Linked DNA regions of Homo sapiens: region 1 is linked to region 2. Evidence: promoter capture Hi-C in human tissues and cell types (Jung and others, 2019). All regions are on one chromosome and are shown on one strand. The core of a region is centred on a gene start or on the middle of the fragment in contact, and the rest is flanking DNA. Distances in the headings are between cores, read along the strand shown. Region 1 overlaps ZNF445 (zinc finger protein 445). Region 2 holds the start of TMEM42 (transmembrane protein 42).

The links. Contacts are between HindIII fragments. The study calls those that stand out against the background at their distance.
Region 1: a contact is called between a fragment that was not itself captured here and the fragment with the promoter of TMEM42 in region 2, in 1 of the 25 tissues and cell types used here (dorsolateral prefrontal cortex).

What each region holds. Positions count from the first base shown.
Region 1 is chr3:44,463,131-44,466,366 of GRCh38, forward strand. All of the region lies in intron 1 of ZNF445 (zinc finger protein 445), which reads right to left. Among named protein-coding and RNA genes, the nearest start is that of ZNF445, 13 kb to the right of the region's middle. The HindIII fragment of the contact is 4,634 bases long and covers 1-3,236 here.
Region 2 is chr3:44,860,593-44,863,721 of GRCh38, forward strand. TMEM42 (transmembrane protein 42) reads left to right here and starts at 1,320. Exons shown (of 3, transcript NM_144638.3): 1 at 1,320-1,524. The coding sequence starts at 1,333. It overlaps MIR564 (microRNA 564), which reads left to right and starts at 1,296; the gene lies at 1,296-1,389. It also overlaps a transcript of KIF15 not described here. RefSeq lists an enhancer at 780-1,369 and silencers at 1,400-1,449, 1,780-1,829. The HindIII fragment of the contact is 28,079 bases long and covers 1-3,129 here.

The DNA of each region.
Region 1 (3,236 bases), core at 589-3,088, 400 kb before region 2:
GGCTCAAGAGATTCTTCTGCCTCAGCCTCCCAAGTAGCTGGAATTACAGGCATCTGCCACCACACCCAGCTAATTTTTGTATTTTTAGTAGAGATGGGGTTTCACCATGTTGCTAGGTTGGTCTTGAACTCCTGACCTCAGGTGATCTGCCTGACTCAGCCTCCCAAAGTGCTGGGATTACAGGTGTGAGCCACTGAGCCCAGCCTGTCTTGCCACTCTTAATGCACAGATGAGAGGCCCTAAGATAACTTCTGGTAGCCTGGGACTCATTGGGAAAAACAGAGGAGGCACCACAGACCCCGTTTTGGGGGAAACAAACAAACAAACCACCTCTGTTTTCCTCATGAAACCACAGGAATTAAAAACTGATAGATCCCTTTCAAAATCAAACGCTCTGTTCTGTTTTGCGTTGTGTTATCTGATGGTTTTGAGTTTTGGGGTATCAGAAATTACTTCGCATTATGAGAGAGCTTTGGTGTGTAATAACTAAGTAGGAAATATACTTTAAGGGATGGCTAAGAGTAGTTATGGAGGGATACTTGACTCTGCACACTTGGATCAGAAAAGCATGCTCTTGGCCACCTGGAAGATAAGGAAACATCCCCACCCAGAACTGGGAGATGAGACTCCCACAAGAGATGGGCTGATTACAAAATGGGATAATTGGGTTTGGGTTGCCTTGCAATGAAATGCAGCGTAGAAGCACTGCACTGTCGACTGGTCATGGTAGCTCATGCCTGTAAGCCCAGCACTTTGGGAGGCTGAGGTGGGCGATCACTTGAGGTCAGGAGTTCAAGACCAGCCTGGCCAATACGGTGAAACCTCGTCTCTACTAAAATGCAGAAATTAGCCAGGCGTAGTGGTGCGTGCCTGTAGTCGCAGCTACTTGGAAGGCTTAGGCAGGACAATCGCTTGAACCTGGGAAGTGGAGGTTGCAGTGAGCTGACATCGTACCATTGCACTGCAGCTTGGATGTCGCAGTGAGACTCCATCTCAAAAAACAAACAAACAAACAAAAAAAACAGCAGCAGCAGCACTGCACTGTCTTCTCCTGTAGTATTTCCCTTATTTTGGGGATCCAGGATCCAGTATAAAAAGGCACCCTTAATTTTGGGGATCTGTCTTTGCCTTCAGCTGCTTATTTGCTGCTTATGTGGCCCTAGAAATACATGCTTTCCTGGCCCTGTTCCTCCAAGGGCTCAATTCTGAAGCCAGTAATCCAATAAAGAAACTGGCAAATGAAAAATCTTACAAGGGCTGAATCTTCTGTGTATTTCTATATGTTGTATGTTTATATACAAAAGAGCTCTGATTGGCTTAGGAAAGTAAACGTTTAAATCAAATATTTTGTCAGAAAAATAGAAACTTTTAATGCCTTTTCGTTCACGTGGCTTTAGTATTCTTTTAGAAGACAGTTTTAAAGACTGATAAAATAAAATGTCTTGAAAATGGAAACATTTGGTCTAAATTAAGATATCAGATTTGCCAAATGCTTTAAGGTCAAATTGTTTCTTTGACTTCTGAGAATTGTTCAATTTACCTATTTTGGAGCATTAGATTACAGATAAGGCCTTGGGACATATGGAGAGCCATGCCCGTTGGCTATGCTAAAAAGAGTCAGACCTTATCATCATTTCTGTCTGATATCCTAGGCTCCACCCCAAGCTGGGCACAGTGGCTCACGGCTGTAATACCAGCACTTTGGGAGGCCGAGGTGGGCAGATCACGATGTCAGGAGTTCCAGACCAGCCTGGCCAGCATGGTGAAACCCCGTCTCTTACTAAAAATTAGCTGAGCATGGTGGCATGCGCCTGTAGTCCCAGCTACTCGGTAGGCTGAGGCAGCAGAATTGCTTGAACCCGGCAGGCGGAGGTTGCAGTGAGCCAAGATCACACCACTGCATTCCAGCCTGGGCGACAGAGTGAGACTCCGCCTAAAAAAAAAAAAAAAAAAAAAAATCGCTTACTTATCAGGTTTTTCACTAAAAATAAAATTTGCTAAGAGCTAACATTGTAACATTTAATTGAGACCACTGGAGAAATAGTTTTACATACAAGGTGTGTAGGAAATGTGTTTTTGTTAAAAGATTATAAGAAGGCATGGGAATATGGCTTTTGTTAAAGGGAATGTAATTTTGTCTATTTCAGAAGGTTTTAAGGATTGTCTTAACCTAAAAGAGGAATGGAACAAAACTGAAGGTTTAAGCAAAGTCAAAAGGGTTTGTAAAGGGTTGATCTTGTAAAAATTATGTGGGTGTAAACAAGTTGGCTAAGATTTAAAAGAAATTATTTAGTTTTCCACAGGTTAAAAAATTAAAATGATACTGATGTGGGGCCAAAATCTGGGCCCAAGTGTCCGAATAACAGGGTTTTCTTAGAAAACTGATCTGCTGTTTGATGGAAAATTGTAAAGGGGTCTAAAAAGTTTATGAAAATCTTACCTTATGGTTAAACTAACTACTGGATAGAGATATAAACTTTTATTTAAAAAACTAGCTTTAGGCTGGGAGTGGTGGCTCACACCTGTAATCCTAGCACTTTGGGAGGCTGAGGCAGGAGGATTACCTGAGGTTGGTAGTTCAAGGCCAGCCTGGCCAACATGGTGAAACCCCATCTCTACTAAAAATACAAAAAATTAGCCGGGTGCAATGGCACGCGCCTGTAATCCCAACTACTCTGGAGGCTGAGGCAAGCAAATCGCTTGAACCTGGGAGGCGGAGGTTGCAGTGAGTCGAGATCATGCCATGGCACTCCAGACTGGGCTACAGAGTAAGACTTCGTCTCAAAAAAAAACCAAAAAACAAAACAAACAAACAAACAAACTAGCTTTAACATTAAAGATGCATTAATGCAAACATGAAATTTGGTTTTCTCTTTTGAAGATGATTTTTAATTAATGTTAAAAGATAATAAAAGGGTCTTGTTTTCTCCTTTGGGTAAATGGCAGGGAAAAAATGGAGAGAAGAGAGATTCAGTTGGCCTCAAGCTATCTTCACTGGGTCTTCTTTGGAAAGCTAAGTCTCCTCTATCAGAGTAAAGGTTTTTCTTTTTTAAAAAAAATTTTTTTTGGAGTTATCATTTTGGCCAAAGAATGATTTATGGTGACCTGGGATTCTATTTTGTGATATCCAGTGTTTTAAACCTTTGCTACTTGACAAACTTTCCAAAATCAAATTATAAATTATGTCTCTTTCTAACCTAATATTTTAGATATTAGGTCCTCTAAAGTCCAAAAAT
Region 2 (3,129 bases), core at 70-2,569:
GAACTCCTGACCTCGTAATCCACCCACCTTTGGCCTCCCAAAGTGCTGGGATTACAGGCGTGAGCCACCGTGCCTGGCCTTATCCGTGCTTTTATTTGAGCCACAAAACCACCCTGTGAGAGAAGCAGCATGGTGTGGAAGGACTTCCATAAAAACTTGCTAAACAGAAGATACAAAAAGAATGCTGCTAAACAGTATGTTCAACTGTGAAATCATTTTTGTTTAAAAAATGCATATACATATTCTATAATTTTTTTAACATTTTAACTATATATAACTAAATAGACATATAGAAAAATGCTCTATTAACACTGATTTTCCTGGAGAGTGGAAATAGCACTTTATACATTTCAACACTTTATTTTCAAGGACGTGTACTTTTTAAATGGGAACATTTTATTTTTATTTTTATTTTTTGAGACGGAGTTCACTCTTGTTGGCCAGGCTGGAGTGCAATGGCATGATCTCAGCTCACCACAACCTTCACCTCCCAGGTTCAAGCGCTTCTCCTGCCTCGGCCTCCCGAGTAGCTGGGATTACAGGCATGCACCACCACGCCCGGCTAATTTTGTATTTTTAGTAGAGACGGGGTTTCTCTATGTTGGTCAGGCTGGTCTCGAACTCCCGACCTCAGGTGATCCACCCGCCTCGGCCTCCCAAAGTGCTGGGATTACAGGCATGAGCCACCACGCCCAGCCGGAAACATTCTAAACATACGTAAGTATAACAGGAGATTAGAAGTCATGTTGATTCTGCGTGGCTTGATTATGGATCATTGTCTTCCTCTCATCGCAGATCCTCATTTTTTCGGTTTTCTGTGATGCGCTTGTCCCCATATGGGGCTCTGGCGTCTTTCTGGGTCTGGAGGTCCCCAGCGCCCTCTGCCGAGGCATCTCTTGGTCCGGCGGTCCTCAGGCTGGAGGGTGGAGCGGAGAAGCCTGGTCGACGTGGATGGACTCGGTGGGCCGGCGCGGGGCCCGTTAGGCATCTTTAATAAGTTTCACCGGGAGCCGGGTGGCCGGGATGGAGACGGCTAAGCCGCGAGAAGTTTACCTTCTACCACAGCGTCCACAGTACCCGGCTTGGCCTCAGGCCTCGGGTCCCGACGTCCTCCCCAGAGCACAAACCTACTACAGGTTAGGCCGGAGGCCGCCACAGCCCAGGGTCTCTGCCACCTGGCCCGCCCCCTCCGAGGCGCCGGAGAGCGATTCCCAAGGGGCCTGCCGGAGCGTGGCGTCACAGGAGCGTCGCGTCACGTGAGGCTGCCATCCAATCGCGGCGCGCGCTCTGCCCTGCGGGCAGCGGGTGCCAGGCACGGTGTCAGCAGGCAACATGGCCGAGAGGCCGGGGCCTCCGGGCGGCGCCGTGTCCGCGACCGCGTACCCTGACACCCCCGCGGAATTCCCTCCGCACCTCCAGGCGGGTGCGATGCGGCGCCGCTTTTGGGGCGTATTCAACTGTCTGTGCGCCGGCGCGTTCGGGGCCCTGGCCGCCGCCTCCGCCAAGCTGGCCTTCGGCAGCGAGGTCGAGCCCGGGGCGCTGTTGGTGCTGCTGCTGCGGGCGGGCGGGCGGGGCGCCGCTGGGCGGAGGAGGGGCGCTGCGGGGCCCGCGGGGCTCTTGGGGTGGGGCGGGGGTGGGCGCAGGGCGCCGCCGCACCCTCGCCGGTCTGTCCCGCCGGGGCCCCGGGCCGCGGGCGGCGCTGCGGTCAGCTGGGGTGGCAGAGAGTGTTTCGCCTCTAATCACGCCAAACCCTCGTCCAGTGTAGGTGGTAAGAGACGTCGGGGACTGAGGCCTCTTCCCTTACCAGGGACCTAAAACCTTTTCTCCGGTTGGGCTAGTTCGCTCTCGGGGAAGAACTACACCTCCTACATCCACCCTCTACCTCTCATTTTAAGTCCCTTGTGCCTGAGCATTTCTCTCCACGTGACTCTTAAGGTGAGAAGCCTCTTGCCCATCCCTTTACTCCGTAATTAACGGGTGTTGTGACCAGATGACCAGTCTGCCCCACTACCAGGAAAATTGGGAGTTTGGGATACTGTAGGCATAAGAGGATACTGACAGAGACGTTCTGGATGTTTTCCTGACGCTGAGAACTCCTAAACTTGCATCCTGGCGTCTGCTAAGGTGTATCTCTGCCTCTCCCTCCCACGTCGTAGACCAGCCTCTGCTTGCTATAGGGGTTTCATTGCGTCTGCAGCCCAAGGTTAGCCTCTGACCTGGACAGTGGTCACTGATTATTTAGGGTTAAGCCTATTTAGGGCTAATCCAGTAGTAGCTGCCATGCTTCAGGTTAGTATCCCATTGGGTGTAGTTCATGGGGTAAGTGGTCGAAAGTAAAATGAATAACTTTGTATGGGCCGTGAAGTTTGTTGTCAGGAACTAGACCTTCATAACCCTTTAAGCAGGTTGCCACTGGCCCATATGCTGCTTTGTGTAAGACAAGGTTGTCCAACTCGCGGCCCAACGCAAATTTGCAAATTTAAAACATGAATTTTTTTGCGATTTATTATTTTTTTTTTAGCTCATCATATATCATTAGTGTTAGTGTATTATATGTGTGACCCAAGACAGTTCTTCCAGTGTGGCCCAGGGAAGCCAAAAAATTGAACACCCTGGTGTAAGTTATAAGCAAGCACCTTTTTCTCAAGACACTATGTGTTCAGCTGCTGAGAAACCATTACAAGTAATAAGTATATTTAGATTCCGCACCCCCCCCCCCCGCCGCCTTGTCTCCAGGCAGGTTTCTAACTCACCACCAAGCAAGGGGGACTGCATATCCTTTGTGTAGGAGGCTTCTAAAGATCTTCTCTTCTCTTGAGACTTTCTCCTTTAAAAAAAAAGAAAGAAAATACCTGCAAGTTCTCCAAGGGATGTCTGGGATCACTAAATAGTCTGAGGTGGTGTTTCCCTCAGGCAAGGCTGTGCCCTAGTTAAGAGCATGGAGGTACACTGCCTGCTTGTGAAGCCTGGTGGCTCTCACCGCTGTAGCACTTTAGGAAGGTTACTTAATGCCCCTGGCTCTTTATCTGTAAAATGAAGTTAAGGAATAAATGAGAATGCTTAAACACAGCCCAGGACCTAACACAGAGTAAAAGCTCAAGAATACCCAGAGGGGGTCAGCCTTAGTGG